Linked DNA regions of Homo sapiens: all the other regions are linked to region 1. The links are contacts of gene promoters, found by promoter capture Hi-C in blood cells and fetal thymus (Javierre and others, 2016). All regions are on one chromosome and are shown on one strand. Each heading gives the region's core, a stretch centred on a gene start or on the middle of the fragment in contact. The rest is flanking DNA. Distances are from core to core; before and after follow the strand shown. Region 1 holds the start of C1orf174 (chromosome 1 open reading frame 174). Region 2 has its middle 2.5 kb from the start of FAAP20. Region 3 overlaps RER1 (retention in endoplasmic reticulum sorting receptor 1). Region 4 holds the start of PANK4 (pantothenate kinase 4 (inactive)). Region 5 holds the start of PRXL2B (peroxiredoxin like 2B).

Region 1 (2,518 bases), core at 11-2,510:
ACCTCCCTCAGCGGCGGCCAAAGAGGACGCATCACAGCAGCCCAGGCCTGCTAGGGGCGTGTTTGCTGGAGGAGGCGTGGCCGCCGTGTGTCCATCCAGACCTGATAGGGCGCGGCCATTGGAGGAGGCGTGGCCGCTGCGGGTCCACCCAGGCCTGCTAGGGGCGTGGCCATTGGAAAAGGCGTGGCCCCTGCGAGTCCACGTTGGCCCCGGAGAGTAACGGGACGGCGGAGGGGTCATTTCCCGCCTTGCACGTAACGGGGGACGAAAACCGGCCCCCAGCCCGACGCCGGACCCTGGCCTCCTGGGCCCACCGACGGCCTCCACTAAGGCCCCCTCCCGCCCGCAACGTGGGGGACAGCTGAGGCCACTTCCCGGGCGGGCCACCCCAACCCAAAGCGGCATGTCGCGGGGCAGCACAGCCTGCGACAAGCGCGCAAAGCTCCCCAGCGGGACCGCAGCACGGGCAGGCCTGGGAGTCCCTCGCGCTGCTCAAGGCCGCTAACCGGCACTCAGAAACCAGCGCTCTGCGGCACTGGAGAAAGCACTTCCCGCCCTCCTGCAGGCTGTTAGCCAGGGGATGCAAGGGGAGGGGCCCCTCACGGACGTCCCGCCCGCCCCTCTCAAACATGGCGGCCACAGGCGCACCAAAGGAAGAGCCCCTCACAAACATGGCCGTCCGCCCCTCTCATACATGGCGCCAAAGAGGCTTCAAGGGAAGCGCCCCTCACGAACATGGTTGCCTGCCCCTCTCAAACATAGCGGCCACAGGCGCACCAAGAGAAGCGCCCCTTACAAACATGGCCGTCTGCCCCTCTCAAACATGGTGGCCAAAGAGGCTTCAAGGGAAGAGCCCCTCAAGAACATGGTTGCTCCCCCCTCAAGAACATAGTTGCCCACCTCGCTCAAACATGGCGGCCACAGGTGCACCAAGGGAAGCGCCGTTCACGAACATGGCCGTCTGCCCCTTTCAAATATGGCGAACACAGAAGCTACAAAAAAAGCACCCCCCGCAAACATAATCTCTCAGGCCTGCCACGGGCGTGGGAAACATAGCGGCTACAGGGGTGCCAAGGGACGCGCCCTCATGAACATGGCCGGCCACAGGCCGACTTCCTGCTCCAGTGTCCCACCACTGGCCCAAGGCCTGTGACCTTCGCCCGCCGCTTACGAAAGAGCCAACACGGGGGGGGGGGGGGGGGGAATCACATGACGAGGGTGCTGCACTGTGATTGGCTGTGCTGACGTCGGACGCCGCCGCGGCGCGCTCTGCAGACTCCGGGTCGCCGCTCCGCCGGGACGCGTTGGCCGGGGCGCGCGGTGCTTGGCTGCGGTGCTCACACTCATGAGGAGCCGGAAGGTGAGGGCTGGGTCCCGGCAGCAGCTGCGCCGGGCAGGGCGGGGACTCTGGGTCACCTGCTGTCTGGAGAACCGGGGCGGGGTCACGGGGTGCCTGTGGCCTAGGAGCGGCCTCCGCTTGGGCCTCGCCCCCGGCAGTAGTTGGGGGGCTCCAGGCCACGCTCCCGGGAGAAGGAGGGCTGCCAGGTCACGCCCCTGTGAAAAGGGGGCTCCGGGCCACGCCCTCGGAAGAAGTGGAGCTCACAGGTCACGTCCCCGGGAGAAGGGGGCTCCCAGGTTACCCACCCCCGCAGAATGGGGCCTCTGGGCCACACCCCCGAGAGAAGGGGAGCTCCCAGGCCATGCCCGCGGGAGAAGGGGGGCTCCGGTCCACGCCCTCGGGAGAAGTGGAGCTCACAGTTCACGTCCTGGGCAACAGGGGGCTCCCAGGTCACGCCCCCTTGAAGGGAGGTTTCGGGCCACTTTCCTAGGAAGGTGGGGCACCCTCTCCAGAACTGGTTTCAACTCCTGGTAGTGCTAGATGCTGCAGAGCTGAGTTTGTGCCCCTCAACTGCTGCCACTCCAATGGACGTCACACAGCAAGTGACCTCAGCTTGGCCCCATCTACTGAATGTGCTAAAAGTGGGGTGATGAGGGATCCACCAAGAGGGTGGTGAGGATTGAAGGGGGGTGCCAGTGTCTGGCAAGGGGCAAGTGCTCATTGCGTGGGTGTAACAGTTAAGGCGAAGGACCCTTTTCACAGTGGACCCGGCGCGGGTCCCGGTCCACTTGGGAGGCTCTGAGCTGCATGGAGGCTCTCCTGGTTTGTTCAAATGGAGTGGCCACTTGTGAATTCCAACTCCTTTTACTATTTTTATCTTTGAACCAAAACTTGTCTCCTGTAGGCACATATACTTGGATCTTTTTTAAAATGCAGTCTGGTAGTTTCTGCCTTTTGATTGAATTGTTTAGCCCATGCACATTTAATATTATTGATACACTGTAGTTAGGTTTACATTTGCCATTTTACTTTTTCTTTTCTTTATACAAGTCTGTCTTTTTCTTCCCCTGTTCCTTCTTTAAGTGGATTAAAGTGAATATTTCCTAATGTAGCATTTTAATTTAATGATTTTTTTTCCACAACTTTTTTGGGTTTTTTCCAGTGCTTTATGTTTTACCG
Region 2 (2,518 bases), core at 11-2,510, 1.7 Mb after region 1:
GAGATGAACATTTGGGTGACTCTGAGGATGCCAGTGGCTGGGACACTTGTTCTTCCGCGGTGGAAGGAGTTGGAGAGGCCTGGCTCCCTGACCTACGGCCAGCCTGGCTTCTGAAACCAGCTCAGTGGGCTGGGGCCTGATTCATCATCCATAAATGTGTCCTTTTTTGCCACAGAGGGTAAGGGGCCTCCTAGCCCACCGGTCTGCAGGTGCGGGAGTAGGAGATGGGTGGCTCTGATGCCCCCACCCACTCGATCACCTTCTGCTCTGCCTGGGATGCAAACTCCCACAGCTGAAACGTTCTTTTGTAAACATGAATTTTGGCTTAGAAAAAACTCATTTCCACTGTGCACGTGTCAGTCCCAACCAGAAATTATTTTCCAATAAAGCAAAACTCCGTCACCACAGCAGCAGATGGCTCCGAAGAAGTGGAGCGTTTTCATCAGGTTCAACTTTGAAACCTCCACCATCACCATCACCAGCACCGCTGTGTCATGCTGATAACTTGAGGACAGGCAGGACAAGGTATGTTTGTTGGAGGTGAACATGCTTCCTTGTCTTGAGAGTCTTGAGTGGCCGGTCCCCTTCCAGGCCCTCGGCTGGCAGGCAGCTGTCGGGAAGCTGTCAGGCGGGAGGGGATTGGGGGTCAGGCTTCCTGACAAGTGGAGGCACCCGCCACGTGCCCAGAGCAGAGGTCACCCCAGTGCCTTTCTCTGTGGACTTATCTCTGGCTGTAGGTCACAGGGGCCTGCCCCACTGCCCCCTCCCCAGTGGTGACATGGGAGGAGGGGAGATTAATCCAGAGCAGCAGATAAACTGGAGGGGAAGAGCCCCCAGGAGGACAACTGTGACACGTTGTGCTGCCTCTGCGTCCCCAAAGCACCAGGCCCAGAGGCCCTGCCTTCTGCCCCATGGCACTGGCCTGGGGCCCTGGCTCCTCTTCCCTGGTGGCCAAGGGTAAATGAGGCCCACTGGGGTGGCTAAGACTCAAGGGGATGGGGGCCCCCCAGCTTCAGTGATGCGGGCTGGAGCCAGGCTCAGCCAGCCCTGAGGTCCCCTGCAGGCCCGTGCCTCCTACCCTTGGGGCACCCGCAGCGAGAGCTTCCCAAGCAGCCTGCGCCAGCCGGGCAGCGCAGGTGTCCCGGGTCTGGGTCACTTGAGACCCCGCCCTGCTTCTGCTCGGCTCTGCCCCTCTTGGGCCCAGTGGCCAGGGCACCTGCATGGGGGAGCCGGGAGGGGCTGGAAGGATGCTGAAGACCCCAGCAAAGCTCTAGTGTTTGGCTTTCCAGGGGTGGGGGCTGGGTCCTCCCGCCCAGAAAGGCCCCTGTTCTGGGGCAGCAGCCACACACAGGTGTCCCTCACATGGTCCTCCAGGACAGGGCAGGGGCCTGAGTTTCCCAGGCTCTGCCCAAGGGACCCAGGCAGGGAAGGAGATGGGTCCCAGGGGGCTCGGAGCCCATCCAGAGGCCGGCCGGTCCCATGGCAGGAGGGCACTGGACCATGTGGGGGCCATAGAGGAGGAGGAGGCAGGAGCCACCCCCGGGTCCAACAGCAGAACCCTGGGGTTGGGAGCCAGAGTGGGGAAGGGAGAGGAAGGAGCAAGAACACCCCCCACCACCCCCAGCACGGCACAGAGAGCTGAGCAAACACTTGTCACCAAGGGCTTTTCTCCTCTGTCTTTTTTTGTTTTTCGAGACAGAGTCTTGCTGTGATGCCCAAGCTGTTGTGCAGTGGTGCGATCTTGGCTCACCACAACCTATGCCTCCTAGGCTCAGGTGGTTTTCGTGCCTCAGCCACCCAAGTAGTTGGGATTAAAGGTGTGCACCACCATGCCCGGCTAATTTTTGTATTTTTAGTAGAGATGGGGTTTCTGCATGTTGGCCAGGCTGGTCTCAAACTCCTGGCCTCAAGTGATCCTCCCGACTTGGCCTCCCAAAGTGCTGGGATTGCAGGCTTGAGCCACCACACCTGGCCTATTTTTTTTTTTTTTTGAGTTGGGGTCTGGAGTGCAGTGGCACGATCTTGCCTCACTGCAGCCCCCACCTACCTGGGCTCAGGTGATCCTCCCACCTTAGCCACCCAAGTAGGTGGGACCACAGGCACATGCCACCATGCCCAGCTAATTTTTTATTTATAGAGACAAGGTCTTGCCATGTTGCCCAGGCTGGTCTCAAACTCCTGGGCTCAAGCAATCTGCCTGCCTGGACCTCCCCAAGTCCTAGAATTGCAGGCATGGGCTGCTGGGCCTGGCCTTTTCTCCTGTCTTGGGAGGCTGGGACCAGTCTTCCTGGAAGTACCCAAGGCCCTCCTGCAGACCATGGTGACATTTCCAGGAAAGACCCAGAAGCTCGGAGCTGAAGCCAGGGCAGCCAGGACTGTCGGGGAGCCCTGGACACTGGCTGTCTGAGAGCGCTTGGTCAGCTGGCACCTGCCATGTGGTGGACGTGGGGCTGCAGAGACCCCACGGCTGGGCTTCTCTCGCCTGAGAGCAGGCCCAGCCACAGGCTACCTCCCACAG
Region 3 (2,518 bases), core at 14-2,513, 1.5 Mb after region 1:
CTCACGCCTGCAATCCCAGCACTTTGGGAGGCCAAGGCGGGTGGATCACCTGAGGTCAGGAGTTCAAGACCAGCCTGGCCAACATGGTGAAACCTCGTCTCTACTAAAAATACAAAAATTAGCCAGGCATGGTGGCACATGCCTGTGATCCCAGCTGCTCGGGAAGCTGAAGTAAGAGAATCACTTGAACCCAGGAGGTGGAGGTTGCAGTGAGCCAAGATCAGGCCACTGCACTCCAGCCTGGGCGACAGAGTGAGACCCCATCTCAAAACAATAAATAAAAATATAAATGCTTTAACTTTCTTATACAAACAAGAAGTCTTTCTGCCTAAAAGCTTTTCCAGTCAGACGGCTGAACGCCAGATGTGAGGGCTAACTGATGTCTGTGTGTCCATCCCTGGCTGAACGCCGGATGTGAGGGCTAACTGATGTCTGTGTGTCCATCCTCGGCTGAACGCCGGATGTGAGGGCTAACTGATGTCTGTGTGTCCATCCTCGGCTGCAGGGCCACACCTGAAGAGACGCCAAATGAGGCACGAGCTTGGTTTCGAACGCAATAAAACTGACCTGTGGGTGCTGCACTCTTCCCGCCCCCTGCTCCTGCCTGAAGTCCCTGATTCAAGATTTCTAGGTCATTCTTTCCATCAGAGAATGGACCCAGTTCCAATTTAAAAACAAAAATAAATAAATAAATTAAGGTGTGTGCTTTAAACAAGGAAGTATCTTCTACAGTCCCCAGAGGAGAAAATAGCCCAGACAAGGCTTTCAACATGCCCTGCTCTGCACATAAGATTATGTAACCTCCTCTAAAGACCGACGAAGAATTCCCATCTTACAGGTTTGCTCCTAGAAACCCCGTGTTTACCAGCAAGTAAAGGAGCACCCAGGTGAAGTCTGAGACGACATCACCTGACCTAGGGGTGCCCGAAAACACACGAAGGAAACCCTCAAGACCCCCTTCGGTCACTGTCTCTCTTACTTGACTCGGCGTCTCAACCTGCACTGTGCTTTGGCCTCACACAAGGGAGAGCTCAGGAAAAGCTACATAAACCCTTTGGACGCCGAGTCATTCATGACACCCAAGGCATGGACTCTTCACCCAAGGAATGAGGCAGCCACAGAGCGCAACCTTGTCCTGAGCATCATGCAGCAGGGTCGGAGGGACACCAGCGGCTCCACTGTCCAGGCCTGGACGTGCCCAGGGCAGGGCCAGGCTGGGCTCAGGACGGCCTGGGTATACTGAGAAGCCTGGCGAGGCGACTCCGGGTGAATCATAAACAACCCTGTTCGTTAAAGACAGTCACTGAGATCTTTCTGACATTTGGCGTTTAGCTGAAAATTGATTACTAGAGACCACTTCCTGCAAGACAGACTGGATCAACAACATCCCCACAAACATCACGCCCAGGTAACGTGGACAGAGCCAAGTCTCGTCACTTCAGCCCACACCTACCTGCAGCAGGTAAACTCGAATCATGTAGACAAAGCTCAGGCCCAGTGTCACGACCCATCGCACAGCCGTGTAGGGTGTGGACTTGTCTAGCCAGGACTGATAAATCTAGAAAGACAAGAGTCCAAAAGCATGAAGCAGGTCCTGTAACTTCTGTACTGACCCTGCCACAAAATGTACCTTCTGCTAGGGTTGGCTTTCAATTTTTAAAACAGCTAAAAGAGTGAGTTAAAATAGCAAGAGATCATCTATGTATCAGCACAAAGAAGTGACTACAATTAATCCAAAGTTTATTTTCAATAATTCCTGAAGCAGGTTCATCTCTTAAGCAAGACTATTACAAAACAATCTCCTAGGAGACTGTGACATTGTGCTGGCCCCAAGGGATCACTATGGGGAAGACCCAGCCTCACCCCAAAGAGAGGACTGTGCATCTCAAAGTCCCCACCCTACAGCACAGCCCTTATCGTCACATCTCAAGTCAGCTCCCCCATCTGCAGCAGCCAGCAGCCAGCCTTGCCCCGCTCCCAGGCCCACTGGCCACAGCCTGAGCCCCAGCAGCCACACCCACATGTGTGTGCGTCCAGGCGGCTGTGGACATGACCGAAGGAGCCCTTAGTTTTATGTATTTATTTTTACAAATATACATATGTATGGTTTTTTATTTTAATTTAGAAATTTAATTTTCAAATTGTGAGAAATTTCCAAATTCACAAAAGTAAAAAGATTATAGAAGCTTACATATGCCTGTCACCCAACTTCATTAATCGCCAATCGCTTTTCATATGTGATTTAATTAAGGTGATGAATTTTTATTTGAGCCGGATCCTCAGCACCTGGAACTGCCGGTGACCCAAGCTTTTCCTGACAGAGGTTCGGACTCCAGCGTTCAAAGGCAGCTCTAGGTCCCTCACTCACCAAGCAATGCACACGCAGCCCACACAAGAGCCTCTCACCCTCAAGGACAGAACCGCCGAGCTGACACGGGGCAGGTGGGGCTACCAGCACCGGGGACGTGGGTGGCTGGGAGAGGGACAGCAAGAGCAGAACGGCAGCCACGGCCGCATC
Region 4 (2,518 bases), core at 6-2,505, 1.4 Mb after region 1:
GAGGACAGGGAAGGCCCCCATTCACCTGCATGTTTCCCGCATGTTCAGTGGGCACACAGGTGGGCGCCCCTCATGGAGGGCACCTCCTGCCAGCCTGGCCCATGGCACACCATGCTGCCAGGGGTCTGAGCTGCCAGAGGTCTAAGCCGCCTGGGGTGTGCTCCACTCTTCCACCCAGGCCTCCCTGGGGCAGGCTCCCCCTCCAGAGCCACACACCCACCCCCTTGGAAGACACAGGCAAGGATGCCTCCTCCCTGAAGGCTTGCCCTGCGCACACAGATGCATTATCCCTGGAGTTTGTGCCGCCCCACAGGCCTGTGCTCCCAGGAGCCCTGCCAGGCAGCTGGTGGCATTCTCCACGTGCAGACAGAGGCTGAGGGCCAGAGACATGCAGTAATGACCCCGGGTTACCCGGGAGGGGCTGATCTGTCTGCTTCCAACACTGGGCTTTTTCCCAAGGCGCCCAGAGCCTCTGGAGAAGACGCATCTCTTCATGCCAGCAGGGCTTCCCAGCCACTCACCCTGGAACCCTGGCCTGCCCCACCTATACCCCTGTCCTGGCTCCAGCTGCTTCCAAGGCTTGTTCCTGCAGCCTCCCAGGCACCTGTCTTGCCCACAGGCAGCCTGCCTGGCTTCCCCCGACCACAGCACTTTCCACGGATCGCCATTACAGCACACATCTTCCCTACCCGCAGGTGCATGCCAGGCTGGGGCTCCTCCCAGGTGGGGCAGGGTTCCCCACTCCTCTGGTTTGCATGGGACTTTTAACATTGAAAGTCCCACGCCCCTGGGAAGCCAGGATTGAGTCACCCTAGCAAAGAGCGCATCACATTCGCCCTGGCGTGCAGGGCCAAGCTTACAGCAGGCACTCGCTGAAGGGCAGGGCTCTCTGACAGTCTGCAGACCCACGTGCCCCCTTAGAAGCAGGTGGGCGGCCTCTGCGGCCTCCCTCAGCAGGGCTCAGAGCACTTGAGTTAAGCCTGTGGACAGCGCGGTAAAAGAACATCAGTCCAGATGTTCTGTGCTGATGCGCGATCTCTGGAGGATAACCGCCCGCCCGCCCGCAGCCCCGGGCCTCTCGGACCCCTGCCCAGCACTGGCCCTAGCTCGCCCTGTAGCGGCCGAGACCTCAGAGGCCGGGGGTGGGGGAGGGAAGGGGCGGGGCCGGCGCCTCATTAACATAATCTATGCGAGGGGGCGTTTGGCAGTCAAATATATGCGCATATATCTCCATGGCTGATGAGCTGGCCGGGCACTTTCAAAATGGCGGAGTGTGGAGCGAGCGGCAGCGGGAGCAGCGGGGACAGTCTGGACAAGAGCATCACGCTGCCCCCCGACGAGATCTTCCGCAACCTGGAGAACGCCAAGCGCTTCGCCATCGACATAGGTAGCCGCAGGCCGGGCGCCGGGCGCGGGCTGCGGGGGCGGGCGGGGCGCCGGCGGTGGGCCGGCGAGCGGGGGCGGCGGGAAGGACGAAGGGCGGGGGCGCGGGCCTCGCGCACAGCCTCACGGGCCTTGTAGTCCGCGGGCCCGCGCACAGCCTCACGGGCCTTGTAGTCCGCAGGGTCGCTGATGCGCGGGCTCGGGGCGACGGCCGGACTACAGCTACCGGCAGGCGCCGCAGGGACCAGAGCGGGGCCTGCCGGGCCTGGTAGTTCGCGCGGCCGTCCTGGGTGGCTGGGGGCCGGGGTCCAGCGTTACCCGCCGCGAGGTGGGAGGGTCGGCGGAATTTTATGTCTTCGGCCACATCGGCATCTGGGCGCCCCGGCTCCGCCGCTTGGCTGGTGGCTGGCCTGAGATTTGGGGTCCTTAGTTCTGGTCGAGACGAGGACGAGCTCGGCGGGAAGCCCTTGGCAGAGTGGCCCCGAAAAGGCCGCGCGTTCCCGCGGCGTGGCCAGCTGTGGCCCGCGGGCCGGACAGTCCGTGCACAGGCCCCGCTCTCTGGAGAGTGGACGCCGGGCGTGAGTTCAGGCGGCCGTGGACGTGGGACCTGGGAACTCGTGCCTCTGGTTTAAAAGCCACCCGTGCCTTCCGTGGCCTTTAAGGCGGCCTGCACTTCTGCCCTGGCCTCTCCAGGGTCCGCTGCAGACCCTCCTGCCTGATGGCTGTGCTCTCAGTAATGACGGCGGGCCAGGCTCTGTTCTAGACCTTTTTCCCACGCTCCTGACTCCCGGACACCTCCCAGCCACCTCTAGGGGAGGAACGCGAATTACTCCCTTTTCGCAGATGAGGATACCAAGCCCCAGAAAGGTGAACTAATTTGCCCAGGGTCATCGGGCTAGAAAGTGGCAGAACCAGGATTTGAACCAGCCACTCCCTGCTCTCCTACTCTGCCCATGTTTCAGGCATGAGGGCTTCCTGGGGGCAGCTTCACCTGGAGAAACCCCCCTTGAATAGCCGCTGCGGCTTCACATACCTCTCCCTCTTAGCACTCATCTCGGTCGTAGGCTGAGTCTGCTTGTGTGTGAATCCCACAAGAGCAGCGGTGTGTCTTGTAGCCCCAGCCCCCGAAAAGGAT
Region 5 (2,518 bases), core at 8-2,507, 1.3 Mb after region 1:
CCCACGAGGTGGTCTGGACACCGAGAGTAAGCCCCGGACGAGGTGGCTCATTACAGTCACCCAGCACCCAAGAGAAGGCCTGGCAGAAGGGCTGGTCAACAGTGCCACCAGAGCCGCCTTGCCCAGGAAGGCCCGAGTGGACAGCACCACAGAGGGCAGCAGGGAGAGGAGGTGGCAGGGAGCGGTGGGAACCCCTGGGCCCCCCACCCCACGCTACCCAAGGGTTCCCGCCCCCACTCACCGCTTGAAGCCTAGCTCCTTGTAAAGCTGCTTGCTCTCATCCAGGTAGAGCTCTGGAAAGCGGAAGCCACATGTGTGTGCCCCAGGCGCAGAACCAGCCCCCAACCCACTCACCACAAAGAATCGCCCTCCTCCTTCCGACCCTCTGTTCCTCTGCCCACCCTCCGTGCTCAGCCCACCCCCGCAGGGCAGGGAGGGGTAAAACGGGGCTGAGTGTCCCCCCTCCCCTCAGAAGAGGGGCTGAGTCCCAGAGGCAACAGGTGGAGCCGGCGGGGCAGAGCTCGTCCAGACTCTGCTGCTGGGCCCAGGTCTGTGCAGGGCACCACCCAGCCACCAGCTGCGGGGCGGGGAGGCAGGGAGAGATGAGGGACGCTGACCCGTGGGCATATCAAGGCCGCTCCAGCAGACAGAAGGGCCGGGGTTGGGCAGGAAAGGGCCCCGAACGCCCTGAGCTTAGGGAAGGGTATGTGCGCCGCCGCGGCGGGGAACAGGACGCACCTCCCGCGAAGTAGTCGCCGTCCAGGAACTCCTGCAGACCCAGGGCCTCGGGCCCTACGCCCACCAGGCGCACGCCGTGTTGGTCCAGGAGCCCAGCAAGGCTGCTGAGGTCCTGGGCGATCCAGCGGCACACCACGCACCCGAAGCGCCGCAGCCCGGCCACCACGCACGCGTGCTCCCGCCACAGGCTCCGCAGCTCCACGGCCTGCCGGGCGGCTGGGTCATGGGCGCGCCCCGTTGCCCCCAGCCCCGCCCAGGCCCCGCGGCCCCCACCACCCCATCGCTGCCAGGACGCCCGGGCAAGGAGCCAGGGACGCGCCCACCGCCCTGCGTCCACCCGGCCTCACCTCCCCGGTCACCGCATGCTTCAGGATGCACGCGCCCACGCGAGCAAGGTCCACCGTGCTCATGGCGGCCGCTGCCAGCCCTGGTTCCCGGCTCCCCGACTCCCTGTTCCCCGCTCCCGGCTCCTCGCTCCTGGATCCCCGCTCCCGGCTCATAGATCCAGCCCCAAGCCCCGCCCCGAGATGCCCCGGTCCCGCCTTTCTTGCTGCCGCCGAGGCCCCGCCCCTTCGGGCTCGTCTCCGCCCCGGGCCCGCCCCCAAGATGGCCGCAGCGCGCCCCGGCCACGCCCCCGACCGCACCCCGAGCCCTGCTCCGCCCCCTCGGATTCGCCCCTAGTCCCGCCTTGTTTCCCCTCCTACTCCAGGCCAAGCCTCGAGATCGCGGCGCCAAATCCTGGGTCCGCCTGCTTCGGTCCCTCCCGCCTCCTCAATCCGGGCCTTGCGGGACAGTTGCTGTCCCGCGTCCTGGTCCCGCCCCTAGCCCCGCCTCTCCGTTGGGCCGCCGACTTGGACCCCGTCGGCCATTGGCGCAGCAGGCGGAGCTGGGCGGTGCGGCCCTCGGTGCGCGGTGCGCCTGTGCGGAATGCGGCGGGAGGCGGGCAGCCGGCTCGGGGTCGTCCCGGGGGGCGCCGGGGAGCGGCTGGGTACGGTGGGCCCAGGGGTGGTCCAGGGAGCGGCGGGGGTCTCCCTGCGGCCTCGCGCGAGACTGGGCTGGACTCAGGGTTGAGGGGAGAGGGTGAGCGCAGGGGTCGCGGGCATAGGGGACCGCGGGCCGGGGTCTCCCGCGGGGCGGGGGTCCCAGCAGTGGGGGGCGGGGGGGTGCGAGGGCTTAGCCTTTCCACGTGGCCTGGTTTTCGCTTGAAAATCCCCGCAAATGCGGCAGCATCTCAATTATACATGGACGCGATGTCTTTAATCATGAAATACTGTTCATGTCGTGCCGGTTGCATATCAGCTTTTAACCCGCCAAACCTTGGGGCGAAATAGACCCCGGGGAGATAAGCACAGCTCCCAGAAGTGCACTGCGGGTCAGGTGCCTGGCAGATGCGTCCTGTTCCTCCCCCACTGCAGCCCTGTGATAGCTTTTGTCACCGAGTTGGGGTGAGGGCCGGGTCACAGCTTCACCCGGCCTGGGCTCCCACCTGAGCGGGCCCGGCCTGGCAGAGTCTGTGCTGCTGGCACGGGTCCTCACTCCCCAGGCCCCAGGACAGCTCCAGGGGCCTGGGCGGGCTGGAGAAGGAAGGGGGAGCCCCCACACTGTATTCCAAATAAAGAGAGGCCCCGGGGGGGTGCTGCTGCTTCGCCTGTGCCCTCGCCCTGGGGTGGTGAAGGTCCAGACTGCGAAACGGAAGTCGTCACTATGTCAGAAAGGGCAAAAAGCAAAACAAGGAAGGGGAAGCACTAGGAGGGAGGAGCTGTGGCAGCTCCAGAGCCCA

What was found. The method cuts DNA at HindIII sites, captures the fragments that hold promoters and counts their contacts. A CHiCAGO score of 5 or more calls a contact.
Region 2: a contact is called between a fragment that was not itself captured here and the fragment with the promoter of C1orf174 in region 1, in 1 of 17 cell types (non-activated CD4 T cells). The highest score is 5.3, in non-activated CD4 T cells.
Region 3: a fragment that was not itself captured here is called in contact with the fragment with the promoter of C1orf174 in region 1 in 1 of 17 cell types (neutrophils); the score reaches 6.0 in neutrophils.
Region 4: a contact is called between the fragment with the promoter of PANK4 here and the fragment with the promoter of C1orf174 in region 1, in 1 of 17 cell types (neutrophils). The highest score is 5.9, in neutrophils.
Region 5: a contact is called between the fragment with the promoter of PRXL2B here and the fragment with the promoter of C1orf174 in region 1, in 1 of 17 cell types (neutrophils). The highest score is 8.6, in neutrophils.

The regions. Positions count from the first base shown.
Region 1 is chr1:3,899,014-3,901,531 of GRCh38, reverse strand. It overlaps C1orf174 (chromosome 1 open reading frame 174), which reads left to right and starts at 1,260. Exons shown (of 4, transcript NM_207356.3): 1 at 1,260-1,360. The coding sequence starts at 1,346. LINC01134 (long intergenic non-protein coding RNA 1134) reads right to left here and starts at 1,128. Exons shown (of 4, transcript NR_024455.1): 1 at 901-1,128. RefSeq lists silencers at 180-359, 1,440-1,509 and enhancers at 560-819, 459-1,028, 1,029-1,597, 1,598-2,168. The HindIII fragment of the contact is 4,148 bases long and covers 1-2,518 here.
Region 2 is chr1:2,196,014-2,198,531 of GRCh38, reverse strand. It overlaps a transcript of FAAP20 not described here. Among named protein-coding and RNA genes, the nearest start is that of FAAP20, 2.5 kb to the right of the region's middle. RefSeq lists an enhancer at 2,126-2,518. The HindIII fragment of the contact is 4,227 bases long and covers 1-2,518 here.
Region 3 is chr1:2,396,156-2,398,673 of GRCh38, reverse strand. RER1 (retention in endoplasmic reticulum sorting receptor 1) reads right to left here. Exons shown (of 7, transcript NM_007033.5): 3 at 1,454-1,558. Among named protein-coding and RNA genes, the nearest start is that of RER1, 5.6 kb to the right of the region's middle. The HindIII fragment of the contact is 1,851 bases long and covers 338-2,188 here.
Region 4 is chr1:2,525,333-2,527,850 of GRCh38, reverse strand. PANK4 (pantothenate kinase 4 (inactive)) reads left to right here and starts at 1,255. Exons shown (of 19, transcript NM_018216.4): 1 at 1,255-1,387. The coding sequence starts at 1,264. RefSeq lists an enhancer at 508-1,228. The HindIII fragment of the contact is 7,457 bases long and covers 858-2,518 here.
Region 5 is chr1:2,585,516-2,588,033 of GRCh38, reverse strand. PRXL2B (peroxiredoxin like 2B) reads right to left here and starts at 1,257. Exons shown (of 7, transcript NM_152371.5): 1 at 1,086-1,257; 2 at 739-943; 3 at 242-293. The coding sequence starts at 1,148. RefSeq lists an enhancer at 1-449. The HindIII fragment of the contact is 11,388 bases long and covers 1-2,518 here.